Linked DNA regions of Homo sapiens: region 2 is linked to region 1. Evidence: promoter capture Hi-C in human tissues and cell types (Jung and others, 2019). All regions are on one chromosome and are shown on one strand. Each heading gives the region's core, a stretch centred on a gene start or on the middle of the fragment in contact. The rest is flanking DNA. Distances are from core to core; before and after follow the strand shown. Region 1 holds the start of CCDC134 (coiled-coil domain containing 134). Region 2 holds the start of SMDT1 (single-pass membrane protein with aspartate rich tail 1).

Region 1 (7,446 bases), core at 1,829-4,328:
GACTCCGTCTCAAAAAAATAAAAAATTACCTTCTGGCTATGTGTACAAGGTGTATATAAAACAAATGAATTTTGTGTTTAGACTTGGGTCCCATCCCCAACATATCTCATTATTATAGGCAAATATTACAAAATTCGAAAAAAAATCTGAAATACAAAACACTTCTGGTCCCAAGAATTTTGGATAAGGGATACTCAACCTGTACCTACCTCCTAGGGTTGTAGCAAGGACTTAAATGAGTTAATATATGTAAAGCACCAAAAACAGCTCCTGGCTTGGTGTGAATGTTATATTGGTGTCTGTTATTATTCCTACTCCCTTTCCAAATAACGAAACTGAGGCCAGAGACATTCAGTCGTGCCCAGAATCACAGAGCTAGTGATACAATCAGGATTTGACCTCAGATTTGCCTGTCTCCAAAGCTACATCACCGAACTCAGAAAGGAGCTAGTCCTTCCCCCATGAGCTTTGGAGACAGTTGTCCAAGCGCAGTTGGTTCAAGTGATCCTCAGCCCAACACACACACACACACACACACACACACACACACACACACACACACACACACACATAGTGTGTGTCTCTGTGACTGCCATGTTCTTAAGAAAGCTTGGATGGCCAGGTGCACACACACACACACACACACAATGTGTGTGTGTCTGTGTGACTTCCATGTTCTTAAGAAAGCTTGGATGGCCGGGTGCAGTGGCTCACGCCTGTAATCCCAGCACTTTGGGAGGCCAAGGTGGGCAGATCACCTGAGCTCAGGAGTTTGAGACCAGCCTGGCCAACATGGTGAAACCCCATCTCTACTAAAAAATACAAAAATTAGCTGGGCGTGGTAGCATGAGCCTGTAATCCCAGCTACCCAGGAGGCTGAGGCAGGAGAATCACTGGAACCTGGGAGGCAGAGGCTGCAGTGAGCCAAGATCGCGCCACTGTACTCCAGCCTGGGCAACAGACCAAGACTCCGTCTCAAAAAAAAAGAAAGCTTGGGGGCCGGGCGCAGTGGCTCACACTGTAATCCCAGCCAAGGTGAGTGGATCACTTGAGGTCAGGAGTTCTGAGACGAGCCTGGCCTACATGGTAAAACCCCATCTCTACTAAAAATACAAAAATTAGCCGGGCATGGTGGTGCATGCCTGTAATCCAAGCTACTTGGGAGGATGAGGCAGGACAATCACTTGAACCTGGGAGGTGGAGATTGCAGTGACCAGAGAGCCGAGATTGTGCCACTGCACACTCCAGCCTGGGTGGCAGAGTGAGACTATGTCTCAAAAAAAAAAAAAAAAAGCAAGCTTGGGGCTGTGGCAGTGGTCAGAGACCCTCTGGTAGGTGGCTGGTTGCACCCAGAGACACTGCAGTCCAGAGATACTGCAGTCCAGAGGTGTGTGTGAGGGTAGTTTGCTTCCTCTGCACCCCTCTGGCTGCCTCCCTGGCTCTCTTCCTTGCCCCTTCCGTGCAATAGTTCCCTGTTGAATAGCAACTACCTAGCCCAGGTGTTCAGGACCCAATTTCAGAATCCATCCCACTATTCTCAGGAGCACTTCTGTTCTTGCCTGACCATTCTTGACTGTTTTGGGCTCTGGAAGTGTGATGCCCCCATGGTTGGCCCCACTTCTCTGCTGTTTTCCTCTCATGTTTTGCTGCCAGCTGCCTGGGAGGGGTGGCTGTATCCCTGTCCCACATCAGAAACTGATCCTCAGGACTTGAAGGCCCAGAAGTGGAGAGAGAATGAGACCTGGAGACAAAGGGCATAATTGTTGGGGAAATGGATGACAGCTGAAGCTATTCATATGGAGCCATATACTCTATTGTTGAAATAGAATAAGGAAATAAAATGATACACTCACATACCTGCGCGAGCTCTCCAAAAACACTGTACTACCTTGTCTACCAGGAGCTGGTTTCTCAGCCAGTTGGATAAGGGATTGTTTCAGCAAGGAGACTGATGGCCTCCTCAGGGAAGGAGGGACGGGACAGGATTTGTTCTTGTAACAGCATTCAAGGAGTCAGCTGGGTGCCTCAGCTGTACTCAGAGAACACCAGTCAGGCCATCCTGGGGCTGGCAGGGCAGAGAAAGGCCTAGGGGTTGGGGCTGCTGCGATTCAACAGCTCCCAGAGGCACTTGACCTGCTCCCTCGCCTCACGTGGAGGTGGATAGAGGTAAACTTTCCAGGCAAGGAGGGTCAAATTCTCAGCTTTCCTATCAGAACGAAACTGTCCCAGCCTCAGCCCTTGTCTGGCTAAAGTAGGTCACCTCTGTCCCTTCCCGTACAGCCGTCATCAGAACTGGTGTTTATGCACCCTCGTGGGTAGATCCTGGGAATGCATGTCCAGCTTGGTCCCCGGCATGAGGTCTGCGCTCGACAGTGCCTGCCCTGCGCCTGTTCTGGGGAGCTCAGCCCAGACCGGGCCTCCAGCTCCCTTCCCGCCCGGCAGGGGCCCCGGGCCCGGAGATGGCCACGCCACGCTGCCTTCTCGGGTCTGACTGTCCTGATCCTGCGCAAAAGTGGGGCTGCACTCGGCCTAACGAACGGACGAGGAAGCCCCCGCCGCACTTGGCTTATTAGTTGGTGGACCGGAGGGGCAAGGAGGGGATGCCCGAATCCTGCACTGAGTCTCTGAGGTCCTTAAAGAAGAACAAAAGTGCTAGTCACCGCCCACTAAACTCACGTTGCGATCTAAAGTTTAAAAACTCGGCCACAGACGACGACACAGTTTCAGGGAGGGCGCGCAGAAGGTCGCCCGGCCGACAGGAGCTGGGACCCCAGTTTGCTGATTCACGCCTTAAATTGGGCACAGACCCCACCCACAGATTTAACTTCCTCCAACACAAGCTAAATCCAGGGCCACGTACCCAGGGCCCGCAGGAGGGACAGGACGAGGATGGTGCCCACAGCGCGCTGGAGGCACGCCAGAGCCTGGAGGGGCAGGCAGGGGCGGTGGAGCGGGGCCGGAAGTGAGGCTAGCGGAGCCCCGCAGTGGCGGCTCGCGCTCATTGGCCGGGAGCAGCGCGGTGGGCGGGACGGAGCTCGGCGGTCTGCGCTCGGTTGCTAGCCGTTTGCTCCCGCTTTCAGTTGCTTTGCTGTTAGCCTGTTGGACCTTCGAGCCTAGCTGCTCGCACAGGACTCGGCCACCTGCCCTTCCTGCACCGACTGGCCAGGTAGGTGGCTGTAGGGGCCGCGGGCTGCAGGTTCCCGGGAAGGATAATGAGAGAACCGAGGGCCTCGAACCGGCTGCAGGTGGTGGGGAGGGAGTTTCGTGGACCTGGACGCCTCTGTTCCTTGAGAAGGCTCGCTCCCTCCTCCGGGAGCTCCGAAGGCTCGGGGTCAACCACCTGGGCCCCCGACCCCGGTAGCTGGCTCAAGGCCCGCCACTACCTGGTACCTCTGCAGGAGTTCAGAGCCTCATGCTGAGCCAGGAGGAGCTCCGGGTGACGCATACGGCAGGATCGGGATTGAGAGGCTGAAAAAGTGAGTTTAACAGTAGAGAAAGCAGGACCTGTCCCGCAGGCTGCTGTTCTGGCTTTTCTTTCCCACTACCTGCTTCAGTCATTGCCAGCTGTCTGGTATTCTCCTTGGCCCCTAAAGTTTTGCCCTAGCCTGGTTCTGGTTCCCTTGAGTTTGGAGCAGGAGGTGGAATGTGGAGGGTCCTGGGTGAACTTGGACTATTCCTTCTCTAGGTTTCACTTATCTCGTCTGCTTGGGGGTAGGGGGTTCTCCGGATGATCTCTGCAGCCCCTCACTGTCTGTAACTGAGCATCTCTCCCCTGGGGCAGGTGTCCTGGTAGTTCAGTAGCCAGCTCTGATCTCAGGTAGCCTGTGCTCATTTACAAAGAGTCAGAAGACAGAGCACTGGACTTAGAGCCAAACAGACACTTGGTTCAGCCTGGGAATAGCTGTGTGACTTTGGGCAGTCACCTCATTTTTCTGTGCCTTGATTTCACATTGGTAACATTGGGGAGTTGTAATCTGAGTGTGAGACCTCTCCTGACCACTTTATGTAATCTTGTACCTGACCGACACCCTCTCATCCCTCTGTGCTTATTTTACAAGTTTATTGATCAACTCTTATCCCTACTAGAGACAAGTACCATGAGTGCAGAGATTTTTGCTTATTTATTGCTGTATTCCCGCCTCTAGAACAGTGCCTAGAGTGTGGTAGGTACTGTCAACCTAAATAGCAGAGTGAGAGACTCTAAAAAAATGATGTTTACTTGGGAATAGACATTGTAGTGACAATATGTGTGCCATAGTAACCTGTGTACGTATTTGGGGAGGTAAAGGAAGACAAAGGTTTTGAAAAGGAAAAATGAGGATTACATGATTATTTTGAGATAGTTATCCTTGGCTACAAGGATGAATAGCAAGAGTGGTGCTAGTCTGAGGTTGGACAGGCAGTTGCAGGGCAGATGTCCTCACAGAAAGATTTTTCTGTGTAAGTTTGCAGTGGCCTTTGTGCAGGGTTGTGGTTTTTGCATTTTTTGTGATCTTGTTATCAGTCATTTGTGCATAAGAACCCTCTTTTCACAACCTTCCTCGGTTTTATTTGTCAGAGTTGTTGTTCTTGTTTTTTCCCATTGGAGAATCATGCTTTAAATTTGTCAGAGTTTTTAACACAAACGACTCTGTTTTGATTCTAACAACTTTCATATTTCCCCCTTTTGGTCAAGATCTTTCTCCAAAAACTTTACTGATCAGTCATCCTGTAGTTAGGTCCCTCAGTGCTGGGACGGACCTATCTTGGGTTGTTGGTCTCTTGCCATGTTGGAGACTAGGAGTCTCCAGTTGGAGACTGGTGACTAGGAGTCAGTGTCAAAACCCTTGTAGTGGTTGGGAGCAGGGGCTCACGTCTGTAATCCCAGTACTTTGGGAGGTCAAGGAGGGAGTATCACTTGAGTCCAGAAGTTCAAGACCAGCCTGGGCAACCGCCAAGGCGGGCGGATCACCTGAGGTTGAGAGTTCGAGACCAGCCTGACCAACATGAAGAAACCCGTCTCTACTAAAATACAAAAATATATATAAATAACATCCGGGCGCGGTGGCTCACACCTGTAATCCCAGCGCTTTGGGAGGCCGAGGCAGGCGGATCATGAGGTGAGGAGATCGAGACCATCCTGGCTAACACGGTGAAACCCCATCTCAACTAAAAATACAAAAAATTAGCCGGGCGTGGTGGCAGGTGCCTGTAGTCCCAGCTACTTGGGAGGCTGAGGCAGGAGAATGGCGTGAACCCAGGAGGCAGAGCTTGCAGTGAACCGAGATCGCACCACTGCACTCCAGCCTGGGCGACAGAGCAAGACTCTGTCTCAAAAAAATAAAAAATAAAAAAATAAAAAATAAATAAAATAAAATACAAAAATTAGCCGGGCGTGGTGGCACATGCCTGTAATCCCAGCTACTAGGGAGGCTGAGGCAGGAGAATCGCTTGAACCTGGGAAGTGGAGGTTGCGGTGAGCCGAGATCGCACCATTGCACTCCAGCCTGGGCAACAAGAGCGAAACTCCGTCTCAAAAAAAAAAAGTTATCTGGGCATTGGTTGGGGAGTGTGCGGGAGTCAGTTGGGTAGAGGATCACTTAAGCCCAGGAGTTTCAGGTTATAGGGAGCTATGATTGTACCGCTGCACTCCAGCGTGGGTGACAGAGCGAGACCCTGCCTCAAAAAACCCCAAATACCTTTTAGCCACATTTGAGCAGCAAGGGAGGTTTGGAAGGAGTGGCTCTCAAGGTATGTCTACCTGGAGTTCATTGTTAAGTTCAATTTTGGCTGTTCCATAGGCATTTGCTGTCATTGCAAACTTCTGGGCCAGCATTATTCTGTCAGGAGTGATACTTCAACAAAAATTTAAAAAGTAATAGGTATAAAGTTTAAAAAGAAAATAGGGCTGGGCACGATAGCTCACCCCTGTAATCCTGGCACTTTGGGAGGCCAAGATGGCCAGATTGCTTGAACCCAGGAGTTCGAGACCAGCCTGGCCAAGATCATGAAACCTCGTCTCTACAAAAAATACAAAAATTAGCCAGGCATGGTGATGCACACCTGTAATCCCAGCTACTCGGGAGGCTGAGGCAGGAGAATCACTTGAACCCGGGAGGCAGAGGTTACAGTGAGCCAAGATGGTGCCACTGCACTCCAGCTCGGGCTACAGAGTGAGACTCTGTCTCCAAAAATAATGTAAAATAAATAAATAGGAAAATAGGAAGTAATAGCAATGTGATAATCTCAGTTTGCATAATAGTTCTGAGAGGCCCACCGTGGTGGCTCACGCCTGTAATCCCAGCACTTTGGGAGGCTGAGACGGGCGGATCACGAGGGCAGGAGATGGAGACCATCCTGGCTAACATGGTGAAACCCCGTCTCTACAAAAAATACAAAAAAAATTACCCGGGCGTGGTGGCGGGCACCTGTAGTCCTAGTTACTCGGGAGGCTGAGGCAGGAAAATGGCGTGAACCTGGAAGGTGGAGCTTTCATTGAGCCGAGATTGCACCACTGCACTCCAGCCTGGACGACAGAGCCAGACTCCTACTCAAAAAAAAAGAAACGAGTAAGAGTCTCAAAATGATATGGAATCTTGTTCCAGTGTCTTCGGAAAAGCTATCTACAGTATGAAACCATCAACTTCTTATCCTGGTTTGCAGTTTGAATGTCTCTGGTTATGGCATTGGGATGTTTGGTGAACTTCCTGTGTGACCCATACATTAGGCACAAGGCTTGTACCTTAAAGTTCATCTAGTTTCAACTTACAGGGCTTCAGGAACAGAGCAGTGCCAATTTTTAATAATTTCATGAAAGAAAGTTAGATTGGAGGAATCTAGAATTCAGGAGCTAGTCCAGTATACAAGTAGATAATGAGAACTCAAAAACAATGCACAGGGCTGCAGTCTAATAACAGATGTACTATAGCTTTTTTTAGAAACAAAATTTTCTCTTTACAGTGATCACATAGGAATAACAGATTTAAAAACCATTTAAGGCTAGGAAGCAAAACCAAGGCAGACTTTAGATTTTACTTAACAGTCTTAAGGTTCCTGGGCCTGCCAGGAAGTGACAGATTTTACTCATTCACTGTAAGGCTGGGAATCTTTGAAGGCAGGCTTTCTATGTACATTCTCAAGTATGATATTCTAGTTAAAGCCCTGGTAATATAAGCAATATTTGTTGTATTCTGTTATAAGAGAGAACAGGCTGGGCACAGTGGCTCACGCCTGTAATCTCAGTACATTGGGAGCCCAAAGTGGGCAGATCGCTTAAGGCCAGGAGTTCGAGACCAGCCTGGCCAACATGGTGAAACGCTGTCTCTACTAAAAATACAAAAATTAGTCAGACATGGTAGTGCTCGCCTGTGATCCCAGTTACTGGGGAGGCTGAGGCGCAAGAATCACTTGAACCTGGGAGGTGGAGGTTGCAAGATCTGAGATCGTGCCACTGCACTCCAGCCTGAG
Region 2 (7,446 bases), core at 2,966-5,465, 280 kb after region 1:
GGCTGTGGTTTCATTAGGCCTCGAAGGTGGAGTAGGAGTTCTCATTCTTTGGGATAAGCTGACTGGGCTTGAGAATTGTTTTGCAGGTTCCCTGGGAACCAGGTGGTCGAAGGGCTGAGCTGTGTGGCCAGACAAGAGGTCCCTGCCCTCCCCCAGTGAGCCCTGCTGGTAAGTGGGTACAGTGTGAGGGATTTGGGAGACGAAGCTCTGCGTCTCATTGGCCATGTAACCTTGGGCAAGTTCCCCTCACTGCGCTGGGCCTTGGTTTTCCATGAGTAAGGACAGCTGGACTAAGTGCCGTTCATGATGCTGGGGGCACCCACATTCAATGGCTGTGGTTAGCTCTTCTCAGCTGTACCCTGGGTTTGTGCCACACTCTTGTGTACAGAGTAGCTCCCCATCTGGCCCTGAAGGCTGCAGATTGAGACAGAAAAATAATGTTTTATCTGAGGAATTGGAGCCCCTTTAAATAATCAGGCCCAGACATACTGAAACGCAACAGCTGTCAAGTCTTACTCCTCCCTTGAGCTAAAGAATTATCTCTTTTTCTTTTTTTTTCTTTTCTTTTCTTCATGTCAGATCGGTAATGTGCCTACATGGTAACAAGGTTCGAGGGTGGCACAGCTCACACATGCATGTGAACACCCAATCATCACGCTCATGAACTACAAAAGGATCAAGAATTACCTCTTGAAGCCACTTGCTATGTGGCTCTAGAGTGACACCAAGTAGCCATAAAATGCTGTACACTGGACACCCTATAGTTCATACCCTATAGTTCAACAATGTATAGCCAATCACTAATCAATGTTATTTCTTTTTTTTTTTTTGAGATGGAGTTTCTCTCTTGTCACCCAGGTGGAGTGCAATGGCACAATCTTGGCTCACTGCAACCTCTGCCTCCTGGGATCAAGCAATTCTCCTGCCTCAGCCTCCCGAGTAGCTGGGATTACAGGCACCCACCACCGTGCCTGGCTAATTTTTGTATTTAGAGACGGGGTTTCACCATGTTGGCCAGGCTGGTCTCCAACTCCTGAGCTCAGGTGATCCACCCACCTCGGCCTCCCAAAGTGCTGGGATTACAGATGTGAGCCACCGCACCCCACCAATCAATGTTATTTCTATAAACCAAGGAGAATTCCTGCCAAACAACTTTGTCATCCTTGCCCCCTTCTGCCTATAAAAACCTGTAGGAAAGGCCCAACGCAGCACACCCCACGGCAACTTAGAAGTTTGTTCTGGGCAGTTATCCTTACTCTCGCTCAAGTAAACTCTTTAAAGTTATATTTGTGCCTCAGCTTCTGCCTGTAGGTCAATAAGATTCAACAGCTATATGCAAATAAGAGGCCAGTAGAGGCCCAGGAGGGTCATGGAAACCCTGGAAGCTTGGCCTCAGAGTTGGAGTTGAGAGGACCCCAGATGAGGGGATAGTTTAAGCACAGTGGTTTCGATGGGTCTGGGGTCCATTTCAGCTCAGCTGGGGCCTGTTTCTTTGGATTTTAGAAAGCCGTGCCCAGGTCCTGCCATGCCTCCTGTCTGATGCAATCTCGTTATTCTTTTCTCGAAGTCCGCCAGTGTCCAGTTTTTTTTGCATGATCCTCACGACATCCCTTTGAGAGAAAAGGAAGGAAAGACGAGCCCACTTCTCAGGAGACTTTAGGGACCTTAGGGACACAGCAAGCGAGTAGGAGTCCCAGGGCTGGGGTCCAGGTTGCCTCTGGAGCCGGTGCTGTTCCCCAGGAGGGCACGGAACCACCTCCCTCTCTGATCTGCTGCCATCTCTCTTGCCTCACAGTTCCCGTGGGAGCCATGAAGCTGAACGAGAGGAGTGTAGCCCACTATGCACTCAGCGACTCCCCAGCGGACCACATGGGCTTCCTGCGCACCTGGGGGGGCCCAGGGACCCCACCGACCCCCAGTGGCACTGGCCGAAGATGCTGGTTTGTCCTCAAGGGCAACCTGCTATTCTCCTTTGAGAGTCGCGAGGGCCGGGCCCCACTGAGCCTGGTGGTGCTGGAAGGCTGCACAGTGGAACTGGCCGAGGCTCCCGTGCCCGAGGAGTTTGCCTTTGCCATCTGCTTTGATGCCCCTGGAGTGCGCCCACACCTGCTGGCCGCAGAAGGGCCGGCGGCCCAGGAGGCCTGGGTGAAGGTGCTGTCCCGGGCAAGCTTTGGCTACATGCGCCTGGTGGTACGCGAGTTGGAGAGCCAGTTGCAGGACGCACGCCAGAGCCTGGCTTTGCAACGCCGCTCATCCTGGAAGTCTGTTGCCAGCCGCTGTAAGCCCCAGGCTCCTAACCACCGAGCTGCGGGCCTGGAGAATGGCCACTGCCTCTCCAAGGACAGCAGCCCTGTGGGCTTGGTTGAAGAAGCGGGCAGCAGGTCTGCAGGGTGGGGGTTGGCTGAGTGGGAGCTGCAGGGCCCTGCCAGCCTCCTCCTAGGCAAGGGGCAGAGCCCTGTGTCCCCTGAGACCTCCTGCTTCTCTACCCTGCATGACTGGTATGGCCAGGAGATCGTGGAGCTGCGGCAGTGTTGGCAGAAGAGGGCCCAGGGGAGCCACTCAAAATGTGAGGAACAGGATAGGCCCTAAGTCTGGGCCCTTTGAGTCAGGAAACCAGGGCCAGTTCTTTTTCAGGAGTTAAATGTTTACCCATTTCCAAGGTTGCGTTTTGGGAGGGGACATGGGTTCTCTCCTTCCTGCTATTTAGGCATTCTCCAGGTTCGAGATCCACCCGTGTGTCTGGAAGGGACTGCGGGACCATTCCTTCCATCCTCTTTATTTCCTGAGGTCCAGAGAAGGAAGGAGACTTAGCAGCCACAGAGCAAGACCCCAATCTCCTGACTGCACTGGCCTGACTGCCCCCTCCCAGGGGATGTTAATGAAATGAAGGAAGTGGGGAATGTCACCCGAGACTGTCACAGGCTTGCCATACCTTTGGCCTACACACCGGGCTCTAGAGCCATAATTTCCAACCTGGGGAGTCTCCTGTGCACTTAAATCCGAGGTAGGCTGCAGTATCGGCTTGAAGCTCTGACACTGTCAGAGAAAGTGGATTTATTGTGTCATAGGAGTTTCTGGGACCCAGCTCTTCCTGAGAGGGGTGGGAAGATTGGGGATGGGATCCTCACTCAGCAGTCTGGGTAGGGCCCTTTGAGGCAGAGGGTCTTCGGCCAGTGAAGAGAGATTTATTCTGCTCAGAGTGCTGGGGTCCCATCCTTTCTCCCTGGCTGCCCTGTTAACAGATGGTGCTGGACCTTGCCCCGGAAGGGGCTTGTAGCTTTTTTACGTCAACGAAATGCCCTCCTGTACTCTGTCTTCAGCAGCCAACTCCTGGAGCTGCCAAGTGAGGGGTTAAAGAAGAGGTGGGGAGGCAGTGTGGCTCCCTGGGAAAAGTCTGTTGCTTTGGTTCTCAGTCCTGGGTATTCTAGGAGCTTGGACACGGGATTGCGTTTCCTGTGCTAAAATTCTCTCTCCTGGCTGGGCTCCGGTAAACTGAAGCTGCTCGAGAAATCACCTGGGAACTCTCATAGCCGTTTGTCACCCAGGGTGTACTTGCCAGGACCTCTCCTTGCTACTCTTCCCAAAGTCGGGAGGCAAAGCGGCTGGGTCACCAGAGCCTGACCATACTGACGCTCCAGGGGGAAGACGCAGAGGCCGGGAAGAGACACCCCCTCCCAAACACATAAAACTTGCCCCTTCCTAGCCTCGGCTCCCCTCACTGGGGCCTTGGGCAGGACCGACCCGCATCCAACTAGGCCTAAGGGGTAGGCTCTGAGCCTCTTACCCCTAAGAGGCGGAGATGCGCCCAAGGCGGGCGCCCGGCCTGTTCCCCAGCCCTGCCTGGAAGCCCCGCAGCCACTGCATTTTGTTTAAACACAGATAGCACGGGCCTTTCTCTTATTGCTACAGTGTTTTGTACACGGTTAAAACACTAGTAAAGCTTTTTCGTTATTACTCCTTCCGCTCCCTGGGTTTATTTCCACAACCGGCCGCTGAGGCCTGTTCTGACGGCCGGGCGGACCCAAGACCGCGGCCACGCCCAGCAGGACGCGGACTGAGGGAGCCGGGGCTGCGCCGCCACTCTCGTGACGCCACCATGCCGGCCAGTGACAAACACCTCCCTCCCGCCGCCCCAGGAGCCGCCGGCACTGCGCGAGTGGGAGGGCTGGGCTTCTCGTGTACTCCTCAAACTCTCGCGAGGCTTCGGGCGGCTTTCTTCCCGAGGGCGGCACGAGGGCTGGGCGGTGGGGTGCGGGTGCCCGGGTGAGGGGCGGAGCTGGGGGCATGGCGTCCGGAGCGGCTCGCTGGCTAGTATTGGCACCCGTCAGGTCCGGGGCTCTCCGGAGCGGGCCTAGCTTGAGGAAAGATGGCGATGTCTCCGCCGCATGGAGCGGCTCAGGCCGGAGCCTGGTACCGTCGAGGTCAGTCATCGTTACCCGCAGCGGCGCCATTTTGCCCAAACCGGTGAAAGTGAGTGTCCTCCTGGAGACGGGGCGAAGGGGCTGAGGCCAATCATTGTGGGGAGTGCGTGAGGGCGGCGCTGATTGATAGGAGCCAAGGCCAATCATAACGATTACCGTAGACTGGAAGGCGGACCAAGAATACGCTAATGAGTTGCTAATTTTGACAGGTGTGTAGAAAATGGTAGGTAGACAGAAGATGGGGGGCAAACGCTGAGGAAGTTGGCCTTTTACATTAGCTTGTCCTGAGAGGTGCGGTGCTCTGCTCCTCTGGAGTCAGAAGACTAGGCCGTGTGCTTCTAGCTTAGAGCAGTCCTGTAATCTCTGCCCTGCCTGTCTCCTAGTTTATGGGATGAAATATGAATTTTGAAAGGACTCTGTAAATAAAGGGTACGTGGGACGGGCCTCATCTTTTTATTAGTTGTCACCTAATATTTAATTCATGTGATTTACAGTCCTGATAGATGTGCAGGGAATTATTACAATCACGGGTTTTCAAATGAAGAATCGGGCTAGAGCGGTGAAGCTCGTATCCAAGGCCAGCGCTGAGGACGCAGCATCCGGGTTTCTTCCTGGTACCGTCCCCACCAGGTCCTGTCTTTTTCCAACACTGAACGCTATCACATGCTTGAGTTTTTCTAGGGAAAACGGAAACAGTCCCTTATATCAAGCGAAAGTTTGCTTTACGACTGCAGGGCTGTGTGGTGTGGGAGTTAAAAAAACAAATTCTCTTAAAGCTAGTCTAGCCTATGCTAACTCACACAATTGACTGTAGGTCCATGTTGGGAAAGACCTGCCTTATCAAAACAGTTGAAAAAAAAATTTTTTTAATTCTAGGAATACGAGAGAAATGTTGCTGAGATTTTACTGACATTCTCCCAATCCATCTAAAGTCTTTGAGTGTAAATACATGCCCACTTTCAAATACATCTGTTTCTAAAATTTTTAAATCAAATTTCTCAGGCATCAGGGAACCTGTTACTTAGTGAACTGTGTAGAATATCCCTTCACTGTACATCTTTCTGTCATCGGTTTTCGTGTATTTCGTGTTCAGGCAGAGCTCACCGTAGTCTGGCCCTCCTAGTACTGGTGCACCCGATTGCCTGTAGGGATTTAAAGTAATTAGCAGGCTGTGTCCTAACTTTAGATGTCTAGGGTGCCTTAGACTTTTCTTTCCAGTGGACTTTTCGTCCATTTTGATGGCCATAACAGTCACCTTATCTCCTTTTTTTTTTTTTTGAGACGGAGTCTCACTCTGTCACCCAGGCTGGAGTACAGTGGCACAATCTTGGCTCACTGCAGCCTCCGCCTCCCGGGTTCAAGTGATTCTTCTGCCTCAGCCTTCTGAGTAGCTGGGACTACAGGCATGTACCACCACACCCGGCTAATTTTTTGTATTTTTAGTAGAGACGGGGTTTCACTATGTTAGCCAGGCTGATTTCGAACTTCTGACCTCGTGATCCGCCCGCCTCAGCCTCCCAAAGTGCTGGGATTACAGGTGTGAGCCACTGCGCCCGGCCTTTTGTCTTTTTTTTAGACAGAGCCTCACTCTGTCTCCCAGGCTGGAGTGGAATGGTGCAATCTTGGCTCACTGCAACTTCTGCCTCCTGGATTCAAGCAATTATCCTGCCTCAGCCTCCCGAGTAGCTGGGATTACAGGTGCGCACCACCATGCTGGGTCAATTTTTTGTATTTTTAGTAGAGACGGGATTTCACCATGTTGGCCAGGCTGGTCTCAAGCTCCTGACCTCAGGTGGTCCACCCACCTCAGCCTCCCAAAGTGCTGGGATTAAAGGTGTGAGCCACCCTGCCTGGCCTTCTCCTTTTCTAATTACTTTTCTTGCCCTGAATTTTTCCAAGGACTTTAAAATCAAGTTGCTTATGATGGGTCTGAGGGTATGTCTGTGAGAGGGCCAGGTCTTCTTTGGTCCTGCCAGAGTGGGCTCTGGAGCTCACAGCTGCCACTCTGACCCTCTGCAGATGTCCTTCGGCCTTCTCCGTGTGTTCTCCATTGTGATCCCCTTTCTCTATGTCGGGACACTCATTAGCAAGAACTTTGCTGCTCTACTTGAGGAACATGACATTTTTGTTCCAGAGGATGATGATGATGATGACTAACAGGTAAGACTTGCTTTACCCTAGATGGAGCAGGAAGCAGGGTGGAGCATCTGTCTGTGATGCAGTCTGGCCTGGTAGCAGCATTTGGACACTGGGGGCAGAAGCATTAATGAATTGGCCCACTTGGTGGCTAATGTTTTCGTTTGTTTGTTTTTTGAGACGGAGTTTCGCTCTTGTTGCCCAGGCTGGAGTGCAATGGCATGATCTCGACTCACTGCAACCTCTGCCTTCCAGGTTCAAGCGATTCTCCTGCCTCAGCCTACCGGGTAGCTGGGATTACAGACATGCGCCACTGTGCCTGGCTAATTTTGTATTTTTAGTAGAGACGGGGTTTCTCCATGTTAGCCAGGCTAGTCTCAAACTCCCGACCTCAGGTGATCCACCCACCTTGGCCTCCCAAAGTGCTGTGATTACAGGCGTGAGCCACTGCGCCCAGCCAACTTCATGTGCTCTAATATGTGCTGCATGGCATTCTGTCAAGAGATGAGGACACTCCTGTTCCTTAGCCTGGCATTCAAGGCTTGCCATAATCTGGTCACACCTCTTATTCCAGTCTCATCTTCCATATTTCCAGCCACACACCGATTCCCAGTATTCACCATTTCTTGAGTTTTCACACTCATACCCACCCCCAAACATTGGCTCATTGTTCCTCCCACATGGAAGGCTCCTTCCCAGAGCTCTGGGTCTTAATTCCACCCATTCTACAGTGTCTTTGAAGTCTTCGTTCCTCCTTTCATTTGAAAGTTGACGGCTCCTTCCTCTAAGCAACCAGTACCTCTCTTCAAATACTCGGTATTATGTGGCTAAACACACACAAAGCAAAATTTTACTAGACTCTGAGCTTCTTGCTGGCAGGGGACGTTTT

The links. Contacts are between HindIII fragments. The study calls those that stand out against the background at their distance.
Region 2: a contact is called between the fragment with the promoter of SMDT1 here and the fragment with the promoter of CCDC134 in region 1, in 1 of the 25 tissues and cell types used here (neural progenitor cells).

Annotation. Positions count from the first base shown.
Region 1 is chr22:41,797,601-41,805,046 of GRCh38, forward strand. It overlaps CCDC134 (coiled-coil domain containing 134), which reads left to right and starts at 3,079. Exons shown (of 7, transcript NM_024821.5): 1 at 3,079-3,166. MEI1 (meiotic double-stranded break formation protein 1) reads left to right here. Exons shown (of 31, transcript NM_152513.4): 31 at 1,654-1,854. The coding sequence ends at 1,699. RefSeq lists enhancers at 1,900-2,886, 2,662-2,741, 2,812-2,891 and silencers at 2,362-2,451, 3,042-3,101. The HindIII fragment of the contact is 18,239 bases long and covers 1,145-7,446 here.
Region 2 is chr22:42,075,485-42,082,930 of GRCh38, forward strand. SMDT1 (single-pass membrane protein with aspartate rich tail 1) reads left to right here and starts at 4,216. Exons shown (of 3, transcript NM_033318.5): 1 at 4,216-4,470; 2 at 6,441-6,581. The coding sequence starts at 4,285. The coding sequence ends at 6,578. PHETA2 (PH domain containing endocytic trafficking adaptor 2) reads left to right here. Exons shown (of 3, transcript NM_001002034.3): 2 at 87-168; 3 at 1,796-3,954. The coding sequence starts at 1,810. The coding sequence ends at 2,589. It also overlaps the pseudogene SNORD13P1. RefSeq lists enhancers at 2,158-2,720, 3,961-4,733 and a silencer at 3,641-3,935. The HindIII fragment of the contact is 9,212 bases long and covers 3,055-7,446 here.